4 separate regions of the Homo sapiens genome follow, and regions 1, 2 and 3 are each linked to region 4. Evidence: promoter capture Hi-C in 16 types of primary human blood cells and fetal thymus (Javierre and others, 2016). All regions are on one chromosome and are shown on one strand. The core of a region is centred on a gene start or on the middle of the fragment in contact, and the rest is flanking DNA. Distances in the headings are between cores, read along the strand shown.

Region 1 (3,125 bases), core at 367-2,866, 1.7 Mb before region 4:
ATGCCTGTAATCCCAGCACTCTGGGAGGCCGAGGCAGGTGGATCACCTGAGGTCAGGAGTTCGAGACCAGCCTGACCAACATGGTGAAACCCCATCTCTACTTAAAAAAGAAAAAAATTAGCCGGGGGTGGTGACACATGTCTGTAAAGTCCCAGCTACTTGGGAGGCTGAGGCAGGAGAATCGTTTGAACCCAGGAGGCGAAGGTTGCAATGAGCTGAGATCATGCCACTGCACTCCAGCCTGGGCGACAGAGCAAGACTCTGTGCAAAAAAAAAAAAAGAAAGAAAAGAAAATTGAAACCTATAAAATTATGGCATACATAGCATAAAATCATGGAAGATAAATATTGATTACAAATATTCAACCAAGAAGAAAATGGTAGCACTATCTAAAGACTTTTCAACTTCTTATGAAACCTTCATGGGATGCAGAAAATACATTTTTAGCCTGGCGCTGTGGCTCATGCCTGTAATCCCAGCACTTTGGGAGGCCAAGGTGGGTGGATTACCTGAGGTCGGGAGTTGGAGACCAGCGTGACCAACAGGGAGAAACCTCGTCTCTACTGAAAATACAAAATTAGCCGGGCATGGTGGTGCATGCCTGTAATCCTAGCTACTAGAGAGGCTGAGGCAGGAGAATCGCTTGAACCCGGGAGGCAGAGGTTGCGGTGAGCCAAGATTGTGCCACTGCACTCCAGCCTGGGCAACAAGGGCGAAACTCTGTCTCAAAAAAAAAAAAAAAAAGAAAATACATTCTTAAAACTGCATGTGACAGAAGAGTTTAAGGTAGGCTCAGCACTTATATCCCATGCAGAATTACACTATGACTTCTGAAACCACTCAGGCAAGAACATCTTTCCTTTCTTATCAATTGTTGAGGAGGCCGCCTACAAGGCTTCTCTAAGTTTCAATTGCCCTGGCCTCTGCTTATCCAGAATGGGAATGTTTAGTGACAGGATGCTAAAAAATGTTGGAAAAAAAACTGTCGAAGTTGTCTTCTGGCACCTTGCCAACAGAAATAAAGCTTACCAAAAACGTTTTAAGTTCAAGAACAACTACTGCCTACACTCAGAAGATAAACCACTTTTCTTTCCTTGAACATCTGAACCTGAAGCCTTTTTTAAAGCCTGTATTCCCGGGTCTTGATTTTTAGGAAACATTCATTAAAGGACTCCTTATAATATCTAAAAAACTAACGCACACTGCACAATGTTACTCTGCATACTACCTCTAATGTGGGCAAAGGAGTCAAACCTGGGTTTTGGCTTCTGAACATGACATAGGGATCCTGTGTTCTTCCCAGGCATCATCTTTCATAACAGTGAGACCCATCACATTTCTAGGAAACATGCAAGACTAAATTCTGGAAACTTTAGGTCACAGCACTAATTTAGTTTCTTCAGCAAGAATTTAAAGAAAGTTCTTCAAACGATAAAAAAATGGGCCGAGTTCAGTGGCTCCACCTGTAATCCTAACACTTTGGGAGGGAAACACGGGAGGATCACTTTAGCCTATGAGTTTGAGACCAACCTGGACAACATAGTGAGACCCTATCTCTTAAAAAAAATAAAACTGTTAACTTTGTTATAAAAAATGCTTACCTTTGAATATTTCTGTAACTCAGCATCATCTGCAATCTGTGTGTCCAAAGTAGCAACCTAAATTTACAAAAAAAATTTCCAGTATTTGTAAAAGCATAACTGTATTTCCTCCTACATTTTCTGAAAATATCTGTAAAACCTATATATTGATAACTCTATTTGACCTACATTCCGATACCTTTCTTATATTTTTGAAATCTATAACACATAATGTGAAATTTCAGAGTATATTTGATTTTTTTGTTGTTGTTCTCCACAACAATCTTTTTTCCTAAATTACATAAATTGAACAGAAGGTGATGGGCACATATATATACTATTTTTAAAAATCCATGACCCCTAAAATTTTAATATAATCCTCCATTATCCTGGATGCATAAAAATTTTACTCTTTTGACAAAATCAAAAATATGGCCATTTTTACTTTCAAACCCAAGCCTCAAAACAAAATTTGCAAGGTCAGTAAAGTCAGATGTGTTTGGAAAAACTAAAGCATCTGACTTTCCACAACAAGCTCAAACCATTTCCCCAGGAGAAATAGCTGGCAAAGACATAAACGGAAAGACCTGGTCCTTGGTGGAAAGCTCATGGAATACTTAAAGCTTTTAATCCTGGCCTAAAACTATTGTTCTAAGCTTCAATGGTGGACATCCACAGAAGTGAATTCCTTGCAAGCAAAAGTATGTTACTGATGATTTGCATCTGTAACTTGTTAATAAAATATGATGCATCTGGCGGGAAGGGATAAGTTAAACAATGACCCAACTACAGCTTCTGAAAGTACTGCATTTCAGATAAGCAGATCCTGTAAGAAAGTTTTTTAACAAAATAAGAAATATTGGAGTACACGCATTCATTCATTCTCCATCATGCCTAGCTTCTTTCTGCCAACCATTCCTCGGTACAAGATGCTACAACTTTTAATGGATAGCTGTCACTTTAAATTTCCAACTTCAAATTCTGTCTCCTCTTTATAATTTGTCTGTTATGACCTCACCATGTAATAAATAAATGAAATTTAAAAGTTTAATTATAAGGAGAATAAAATTTTAACAGAAGGCTGGCAGTGGCTCATGTCTGTATCCCAGAACTCTGGGAGGCCAAGCAGGGTGGATCACTTGAGCCCAGGAGTTCGAGACCAGACTGGGCAACACAGCGAGACACCATCTCTAAAAAAATTTGAAAAATTAAGCGAGCGTGGTGGCTCATGCTTGTAGTTCCAGCCAGTCAGGAGGCTGAGGTGGGAGATCACTTGAGCCCAGAAAGTTGAAGCTGCAGTGAACTATGATTGTACCACTGCATTCCAGCCTGGGCAACAGAGAAAGACCCTGTCTCTCAAAAAAATGTTTTTTTGTTTTTTGTTTTGTTTTGTTTTGTTTTTGAGGTGGAGTCTCCCTCTTTTGCCCAGCTGCAGTGCAGTGGCACGATCTCAGCTCACCACAACCTCCGCCTCCCAGGTTAAGCAATTCTCCTGCCTCAGCCTCCTGAGTAGCTGGGATTACAGGTGCCCACTATCACACCCAG
Region 2 (2,974 bases), core at 335-2,834, 1.8 Mb before region 4:
ACAGCTGAGTTTCTCAATTGTGGTGGTGCATATGCAAGGTTTTACATGTGATAAAACTGTATAGAGCTACAAACACACACACAAATCAATGCATGAATAACTGGTGAAATCTGAATAAACTACGGATTGAGCCAATGTCAATTTCTTGGTGTTGCTATTATAGTATAGTTGTATAAGATATTAAAATTGGAGGTGACCGAGTGAAAGGTACATGGGACTTCCCTGTACACTTCTTTGTAATTTCCTATAAATTTATGATGATTTCAGAATACATTAAGAAAAAATATAATACGAAACATTAAAAAATTAAGTTACAATAGATCAGCAATCAAAGTAAAAAGTGAATTCGTCTCACTTATTTTCTAGATGATTAGATTCAAAAAACAAAATTTAGTTGGATGTTGCTTACAAAAAATACAACTAAAACTAAATGAAAAGAATGGTGGAAAAGAAGGAATGAAAAAAGCAAAGTACTGTCCGGGCGCAATGGCTCATGCCTATAATCCCAGCACTTTGGGAGGCTGAGGTGGGCGGATCACCTGAGGTTAGGAGTTCGAGATCAGCCTGACCAACATGGCAAAACCCTGTCTCCACCAAAAAATTCAAAAATTAGCCGGGCGTGGTGGTGGGTGCCTGTAATCCTAGCTACTTGGGAGGCTGAGGCAGGAGAATTGCTTGAACCTGGGAGGTGGAGGTTGCAGTGAGCTGAGATTGCGCCACTGCACTCCAGCCTGGGTGACAGAGAGAGACTCCATCTCAAAAAAAAAAAAAAAGCAAAGTACCATGTAAATTAATAACTAAAATAAAACAAGGTTACCAATATTAATAAAATAGAATTTAAGGCAAAAAGTAACTAATAGGAATACAGAAGAAAACCACATAATGTCAAAAGCAAATCACCAACAACAAATCCACTAAATATGTACAGCAAAACCAACAGAATTACAAAGAATAGCAAACAAATCCATAATCACAGTGGGGGACAAACTCTAACTGAAACTGAGGAAAAAGACCAAAAAAATTAGTAAGAATATGGGACTCCTTATTTGTTTATCTAACTGACTATTATTATATGGATGTCAAATAGGCATCTTAGCCTAACATGTCTAAAACATGTCTCCCCAAATCTGTTCCTCCCACAGTCTTGCCCATCTCAGCAAACAGAAATTCCATCTTCGATTCCTCAAGCTGAAAAGCTTTTGAATTATCTTTGCCACTTTATTCTTTTGCATCCATTCTGTTAGTAAGTCCTATTATTCACCTGCAAAATATACCACAACCTGACTGCTCTCCTCCTGGTCCAGGCCGCCATTCTTTCTCTCCTAAGTTACTGCAACAGCCTTCTGGCTGAGGCCCCTGCTTCCATCCCTGCCCCTGAAGCCAGAATACTCCTTTGAAACAATACTTACCTGTTCATAATTCTCCAGTGACTCTCCGCTGCGTTCAGAGCAGAAGACCTTCCAGAGCTTTCAGGATCTACGTGATGTGGCTTCCCATCACTCCTCAGCCCTTTTCTCTTACCCCTTCTGGCTTGTTCATGCTATGCTATCATTGCTGGACTCACTGCTGCTCCTTGAACACATCCAGGCAAGCTCCTACCTCGGAGCTTTTGCATGTTTTTCTTCCTCCATATATCTATATGGCTCACTCTCTCATTTCCTATATTTGTCCCAATATCATCTTCCATAACAAAGTTATTAAAATTGCAACTATTGCTTTCACCATCCCCAACCCCAACGCTCCTTATCCTCCTCCCCTGCTTTATTTTGTTCCCTAGCTACTTATTGCAATCTGACATTCTACATATACTTATTTTATTGTCTATTCCCCCATTCCCACTATCATGTAAACACCATAAGGGAAGGGACTGTTGGTCATTTTCTTCATTGCCATAAGTAGTATATTTGAAAATTGTTTTAAATATTGCACAGCACAAATATAACTCAACATTTGTATATACAGACAAGCTTTTATGTAGTTCCTTAATTTAATCCTCACAATAATGCTATCGATTTTGAATTCTCATTTCCATTTTATCTGAAAACGGAAAATAAGTAGGTCTAATGACTTGTCCAAAAACACATAGAAAATAAAAAGGACAGACTCCGACTCCAACCCATGACATCCAGGGCTCTTTGTATTCTATCACAGCTGAAACACCATGATTAACAGTTAGCATCATAAAGAATGAATCAAGAACAAGCAGATTATGGGATTACAGATACCCACCATGGTGTCACCCAATTAACCCAATGCAAAGAAATGTATCACATTCAGACCTCAGGGCATTCTCAGTGGTTTAATATGCCTTTTTTTTTTTTTCCTGCTTTGAGACAAGAGTGTCGTTCTGTCACCCAGGCTGGAGGGAAGTCCGATCTTGGCTCACTGAGACCCCCACCTCCAGGGTTCCAGCGATTCTCCTGTCTCAGCCTCCTGAGTAGCTAGGAATACAGGCACGTGCCACTACGCCCGGCTGATTTTTGCATTTTTAGTAGATGGGGTTTCACCATATTGGCCAAGCTACTCTCAAACTCCTGACCTCAAGTGATCTGCCTGCTTCGGCCTCCCAAAGTGCTGGTATTACAGGCATGAGCCACCGTGCTCGGCCTGATGTGCCTTTAAAACTTAGCGCCCACAGAGCGTATCCGGTGCGAATCATGGATCCTCCCCTCACCCAATAGAGTCTTCAACCTTCCAGGGTCAACTTCTTTCTCTAAACAAGCATAATATCCTCCTGACACATAATTATAAAATTTAGGGCTTCAGGAAAAAAATTTAGAGCTTGTTAAAGAATGTGGGAGAAGCATAATGCCTACCATCTGCCCTGTTCTATATAGAGCCCTTTGTTAGTTAAAGTGTTTTTTTGCAATCAGCTGAAGTTTTTATCATTTTATTTGTTTACCCCTGCCCACACTCACTTGAGAAACTCATAAATTGTGCATACAATGTACAAACTAAGGCATATAAATAGAGC
Region 3 (3,470 bases), core at 542-3,041, 1.4 Mb before region 4:
TTCTGCCTAATAAAGGAACCAGAAATCAGACTATTCCTGTTGCCACTCTAATCACAGGATTGAAAAAATGTACAGAGGGCCCTTCTTATCACAGATTCCGCATTGTGGATCAAAAATATTCAGAAAAAAATAACAATATAATGATAAAAATAATATAACTAAAAAACCAATGCAGTATAACAACTATTTACATACTCCAGATCAGCAGTCTCCAACTTTTTTGGCACCAGGGACCAGTTTCATGGAAGACCTCAGTCAGATCACCAGGCATTAGTTAGATTCTCATAAGGAGCAGGCAACCTAGATCCCACACGCACTGTTCACAATAGTGTTCACACTCCTGTGAGAATCTAATGCCCATGCTGATCTGATAGGAGGTGGAGCTCAGGTGGTAACGCTTGCTCACCCGCCACTCATGTCCTGCTGTGTGGCCCAGTTCCTAACAGGCCACAGACTGGTACTGGTCTGCGGCCTAGGGGTTGGGTTCCCTGCTCTTTATTACTTATAAGTCATCTAGAGATGACTTAAAGTACACAGGAGGTTGTGTGTAGGTTAGATGCAAATACGACACCATTTTATGCCAGAGACTTGAATATCTGCAGATTTTGATAATTGCGGGGGTCCTGGAACCAATCCCTCATGGACACCGAGGGATAACTGTATATTAAATCCCTTCCAACTTACAAAGTCACTGACCCACCTTAGCTCTCAGAACCTGAGTAGAACCAGGTGGAGGTAGGCTGAGGTAACCATAAAATTCCGAGATTCACTCATAATTTTAAGCATTTACTGAGTGTCTACTTCATGCAACTCATCTCCATAATGTATGGCACTCCCCTCAAAGGACGTGGACTTGTGTGACCCTAACAGGCCTTTCTCTTTACTGTGCATTGTTGAATGAATGCCACCAACACATGTTTACTGTTTTTTCTCCACATGTCTACTGTTCTCCCCTTCTTCACTAATTACCCAAGCCACTTCTGTGTGACCCCATGCATTCTAGCTACTCTAATACTCTCAGTCAGGTCATCGTCAAAGATGTTCGGGAGTTTGGGAGCCATTTTTCTCTTCCATGAATATTAATTGTGTGTTTATTACATGTTAGATACTGTTCTAGGTTCTAGAAATACAGACCCTACCATTGTGGAACCCTGTGAAGTAAGGAAGACAGATAACAAATAAATAACTAATCTTGTAAGGTCATGGTAAGGGTATGAATAAGGATAACAGGAAAGAGAAAAACAGAACATGATGGTGGTGTCTTAGGAAATGTGGTCAGCAAAGTTATCTCTGAGGAGGTAAAATTTATGCAAAGATCTCAGTGATGTGAGAAAATGAACCATGAAAAAGCTTGTTGCACATGCACTTTCAGATAGAGAATAGCTAACACAAAGATCCTGCAACTGAAGCAGACTTGGACCATTCCGAGAAGAGCCGAGGCCTGTGTGGCTGAATCACAGTGAGCAGGAGAGGGGCTGTTAGGAAATTAGGTCAGACAGGTGGTTATGAGCTAGAGTATGGGGTTGGGTGTCATTTCTATGTCTTTAATGTGACTTCAGTAAGTGAATTATTATTTTAATGTGTATCTTTCTTGTATGTAACTAACATGTAGCTTTATTTCTCCAGGGTTTCTTAATCATTAGTTTAAATATCTGGACATAAACAAATTTAATCCAAACTACAGCCCTAGAAATAACATGGGTCTTAGGATCACGTTGGCTTAACTTTTGGACCCATCTGTAAAATGAGGATAAGTTGCTCTGTCCCATCTGGTTGCTATGAGGATTAAATGACATAATATATAAAGTGAAAGCATTCAGCACTGTGCCTAATACTCAGATGACACTCAGATTTTAGTTTTGTGTTACCAGAGCACAAGATAGTGGAGGTTGGGGATGAGGGTCCCTGGGGGATACCAGGATTAGCTCACATCAGGCACTGTCTCACATGCTAAATCGATGATGAGATTTTATCCTGATGGTGAGGCACCTTGGAAGAGTTTTGAGAAGGAGAGTGAGAATGAGATTATTCAGTGAAAGACGTATTTGTGAAGATGGTGGCCGTGGTGGGAAAGGTTAGGGAAGGTCAGGAGACAGCAGTACCAACAAGAAGGCCACTGCAGTATTCTTGGTGAGAAATGAGGAGAGCCTGTATGGTGTGCATATATTTTCTCCCATTCTGTAGTTTGTCTCTTTACCCTATTGATTGTTCCTTGTCTGTGCAGAAGCTTTTTAGTTTGCTGTAATACCGTTTGTCTATTTTTGCATTTGTTGTCTGTGATTTTTGGCTTATACCCAAAAATCATTGTTCAGACTAAGGTCATGCATGAAGCTTTTCTCTTATGTTTTCTTCTAGTAGTTTTATAGTTTTGGGTCTTACATTTAAATCTTTAATCCATGTAGAGTCGATGTTTGTATAAGATGTGAGATAAAGGTCTAATTTCATTTTTCTGCATGTGGATATTCAGTCGTCTCACACTATTTATTGAAGAGAGCTCTTTCTCTATTGTGTGTTTTTGGCACCTTTGTCAAAAATCAAGTAATCGTAAATGTGCAGATTTATTTCTTGGCTTTCTATTCTGTTGCATTGGCCTATGTGTCTATTTTTATGCCAGTACCATGCTAATAGGGAGCTAATATTCAAAATATATAAGGAACTCAACTCAATAGTAAGAAAACAAATAATCTGATTTAAATATGGCCAAAGGATCTGAATAGACATTTCTCAAAAGAAGACATACAAATGGCCAACAGGTATAAGAAAAAATGCTCAAGATTTCTAATCATTAGAGAACTACAAATTAAAACCACAATAAGACATTAACTTACACCTGTTAGTGTGGCTACTATCAAAAGGGCAAAAGATAAAAAGTGTTGGCGAGGACATAGAGAAAAGGGAACTCCTGTACAGTGCTGGTGGAAATGTAAATCAGTACAGCCATTATAGAAAACAGCACGGAGGTTTCTCAAAAAATTAAAATTAGAACTGTCACAGATCCAGCTATCCCACTACTGCATACATATCCAAAGGATATGAACTCAGTATGTTGAAGAGGTATCTGCACTTCTGTGTTTATGCAGCAGTATTCACAATAGCCAAGATATGGAATCAAACTAAGTGTCCATCATCAGATAAATGAATAAAGAAATTGTGGTCTATGTATACAGTGGAATACTCTCCAGCTTCAAAAAAGAAGGAAATTCTGTCATTTGCAACAACATAGATGAACATCAAGGATATTACGCTAAGTGAAATAAGTCAGGCCGAGAGACAAACACTCCATGATCTCACTCATATGAGGAATCTAAAAAAGTGCAATTCATTAAAGTAGAGAGTAGAATGGTGGCTACAGGGGCTGGGGGTGGGGAATTGAGGAGATGCAAAAACAACAACAACAATGATGAGAGCCTTTGCTCCTGGGGAGTGAGGGATGGGAAATGGATTTAAGAGATGCTTGTAGTTCCCAAAGC
Region 4 (3,012 bases), core at 99-2,598:
CTAGGAGGGAGGAGTGAGAAGGGAGCTGTCCCCGCTTCTCTGCTCCCTTAACACTTTCTATATCATAGAATGTGGCTGTGTGTCTCACCCTCTAGAGAGTGAGCCCCTGGAGGGGAGCTGAGTGTGCTGTCCACCTCTGGCTGCATGTGCCAGTGGGTGATATATTCACCTGTAAAGCACAGTACAGCTAGAGGTTAGGAGACAGGGGAACAGATGCTGGAGCTGCTGCTGCCTATGTTGATGCAAATAACAATACCGTTTGGGAATCAATCTAAAGTGTCTTTGCCTGCATCAGCTGAAGTTTCTTTTAGCATAATAACAACTGTCTGGAAATGTAGGATATGCAGATCTATATTCTAATCTTAGCTCTGTACTTGCTTTTGCAGGATTTGGAGTAGTTTATCAATACCCCAACTTGTTTCTTTTCTCTTTAAAATAAAGTAAAACTATTTTGTTTATAACTATTAACTTGTGAGGTGAGAGTTATCCAGCTTGTCATAGGGATCTGGCATAGAGACAGTACTCAACGTTATTATTATCAATCTATAATATTCTGGTTTTTTTGTTTCTTTGTTTGTTTGATATGGAGTCTCGCTCTGTTGCCCAGGCTGGAGTGCAGTAGTACCATCCTGGCTCACTGCAAGGTCCACCTCCCAAGTTCAAGCAATTCTCCTGCCTCAGCCTCCTGAGTAGCTGGGATTACAGGCGCGCACCACCACGACCGGCTAATTTTTTGTATTTTTAGTAGAGACGGGGTTTCACCATGTTAGCCAGGATGGTCTCAATCTCCTGACCTCGTGATCTGCCCACCTCGGCCTAACAAAGTGCTGGGATTACAGGGGTGAACCACTGAGCCCGGCCGATATTCTTATTTAATTTAGTCACCAAATCGCAGTTAGGACAGTGTTATTATTTTGCCCCGTTTCACAGATGAGGAAACAATCTCAGGGAAAAGAAGGGATTTACTCAAGCCATACAGTGGAGACGTCTGGATTTGAACCTACTGTGTTGGAATCTCAACTATGTGCAAACTCACAAAGGGAAATGAAGCCTTCGGAGGAAGGGCGGGACAAGGGTGACCACACAGGTGAGCGAGATGGGCTTCTAGAAGGACGCCCGCATATCTCTGAGGAACAGAGAAGGCACAGATCAAAAACACCTAGGCTCTTCACCCGTTGGCAGCCAGAGCCTGGGTCCATTGCCTAGGCAGTGGAGAAAAACCTGGTCCCCGCCCAGAAACAGCCTTCAGCGTCCTTAGCGACCAGGGCGGAACAGGCGCCGCCCGCGATGCGGGCCCTGTGATTGGCCGGATTCCTGGGCTCGGTCCCCACGCCCCGTCCCGTCCCCGGGTCTGAGAGTGTCAGCTTCCTGGGGAGAAGCACGGACCGCGCACCTCTGAGCTGCCAGGGTGGGGACGCTGCCCTAGCGGTAAGCCCCCCGACTCTGTTCTCTCCGGGCAATCAGGGCCGACACGCAGCTGCTGGGCAGGGAGGGGATTTGAGGATCACGAGTTCCGGGTCTGGAAGATTCCAGACAGGTGCAAAGAGGCTGCAGGTCCCCGGGATGAGGGGCTGCCCTAGCACAGGTCTTTAGTATTGGACTTTTGGGAAGAACCCTGGCCTAGACATCAGACCCAAGTACTGGAAACAGTCCCGTCCTTCATTCCTCTGTGACCCTTGTCAAATAACACACCCTCTCTGGGCCTTAGTTTTCCAATCTGTGAAGGAGCCTTTGGAGTAGAATGATTTCTAAAGGCCTTTCAGCCTCTGGGTGGTTCTAAAAGGGAGTGTTCAGCTGTGGCCAGATTTACTGAACTTCTGATTTTCCCTTGGCATCACTCTGTTTAAACACCTTGTGCAGGAGTTCAATTTCAGATTCATTGTATTGTTGTAGAAAGAGATCAGTGATAACAACAAAAGTCTGTCTGTCTTGTGTACAGTCTCCCTTCAGATGCATTATCTCCTTGGATTCACCCTCAAGTCCCTGAGAACAGACCTAGAATTACCCTGATCTCATAAATGGGGAAACTAAACATCAGAACTGAATATGGATTCTTCATATGTCCCACTAATGCCCTTGTTTCTGCTCTGACCTCACTGGAATTCCATCCTATGTCTTGTAGTACAGGAAGGTAGAGTCACCTAATGATTCAGTAGATCTGCTGTACAGACCTCTTAGGTGAGATTCCCAAGTCGGCTAATTACTGGTGATGTGATGTGATGTGAGTAAGTCATATAGCTACATTTTGCTTGTTTCCTCAACAGTAAAACAAAAATGATAATAGTAGTTAAAAATATCTTTCTCATGCCTTTGTTAGGAGTGTTAAGTGAGGTAATATAGGTGAAACACTTTGTCCTGCTATTATTATTGCTTGTTGTTATTGGCAAGGATGATGCAGTTCCCTAATGGAAAATCAAGAGGAACAATTTACTTATTTTCACCCCTAGGGATCTGAAGGGATTTTGAAAGGAATCATGTCTTCAGCCTGGAAGACTCCCCGTGGATCAGATGCAATGCCTGAGATCATGGTGAAAATCATTGGAAGTAAACACTTTCAATACCTCGTGGAGAAGCCAAAGATGTAAGTCCATATTTGAAAAATATCTATGTTGCTTGGATGATAATGAAGTTTTATTGTTTTGTTTTCACCCAGAAATTTAAACTTAAAAAATGCCATCCATGGAAAACGAAGTCATTAAGATGCAACAGTAGAGGTAAAATCGTGTTGATAACTTCCATGTGCACTGTTTTCCTGATATTTTTCATCTTTATAATTCCCCATACTCCTTAATTACTTGGGCTGATTTTCCAAATAGATGGGAAATATGAGCATTGCGACATTTATAAATATTAATGGAGCACTGCTGCCTTTTCTCATCGGGCTTGTAATCTACCACATGTACTAATTTTGGGGAGAGTGGGGGAGGTTTAATAGTCAATTTGTTGTGAATTACAGGAGTAGGATTAATACAGAATCATAAATTGTAAGGTTTTCACTTACTCCTGTTTGTA

Evidence for each region. The method cuts DNA at HindIII sites, captures the fragments that hold promoters and counts their contacts. A CHiCAGO score of 5 or more calls a contact.
Region 1: a contact is called between a fragment that was not itself captured here and the fragment with the promoter of C1orf87 in region 4, in 1 of 17 cell types (endothelial precursors). The highest score is 5.9, in endothelial precursors.
Region 2: a contact is called between a fragment that was not itself captured here and the fragment with the promoter of C1orf87 in region 4, in 4 of 17 cell types (endothelial precursors, M2 macrophages, M0 macrophages and 1 more). The highest score is 7.8, in endothelial precursors.
Region 3: a fragment that was not itself captured here is called in contact with the fragment with the promoter of C1orf87 in region 4 in 1 of 17 cell types (endothelial precursors); the score reaches 6.4 in endothelial precursors.

What each region holds. Positions count from the first base shown.
Region 1 is chr1:61,807,007-61,810,131 of GRCh38, reverse strand. It overlaps PATJ (PATJ crumbs cell polarity complex component), which reads right to left. Exons shown (of 44, transcript NM_001350145.3): 14 at 1,602-1,658. Among named protein-coding and RNA genes, the nearest start is that of MIR12132, 38 kb to the left of the region's middle. The HindIII fragment of the contact is 1,179 bases long and covers 1,027-2,205 here.
Region 2 is chr1:61,901,575-61,904,548 of GRCh38, reverse strand. The region is part of intron 24 of PATJ (PATJ crumbs cell polarity complex component); the gene reads right to left. Among named protein-coding and RNA genes, the nearest start is that of MIR12132, 57 kb to the right of the region's middle. The HindIII fragment of the contact is 771 bases long and covers 1,199-1,969 here.
Region 3 is chr1:61,513,285-61,516,754 of GRCh38, reverse strand. No RefSeq gene overlaps it. Among named protein-coding and RNA genes, the nearest start is that of TM2D1, 210 kb to the left of the region's middle. The HindIII fragment of the contact is 877 bases long and covers 1,353-2,229 here.
Region 4 is chr1:60,072,106-60,075,117 of GRCh38, reverse strand. It overlaps C1orf87 (chromosome 1 open reading frame 87), which reads left to right and starts at 1,348. Exons shown (of 12, transcript NM_152377.3): 1 at 1,348-1,428; 2 at 2,448-2,581. The coding sequence starts at 2,475. The HindIII fragment of the contact is 5,384 bases long and covers 1-3,012 here.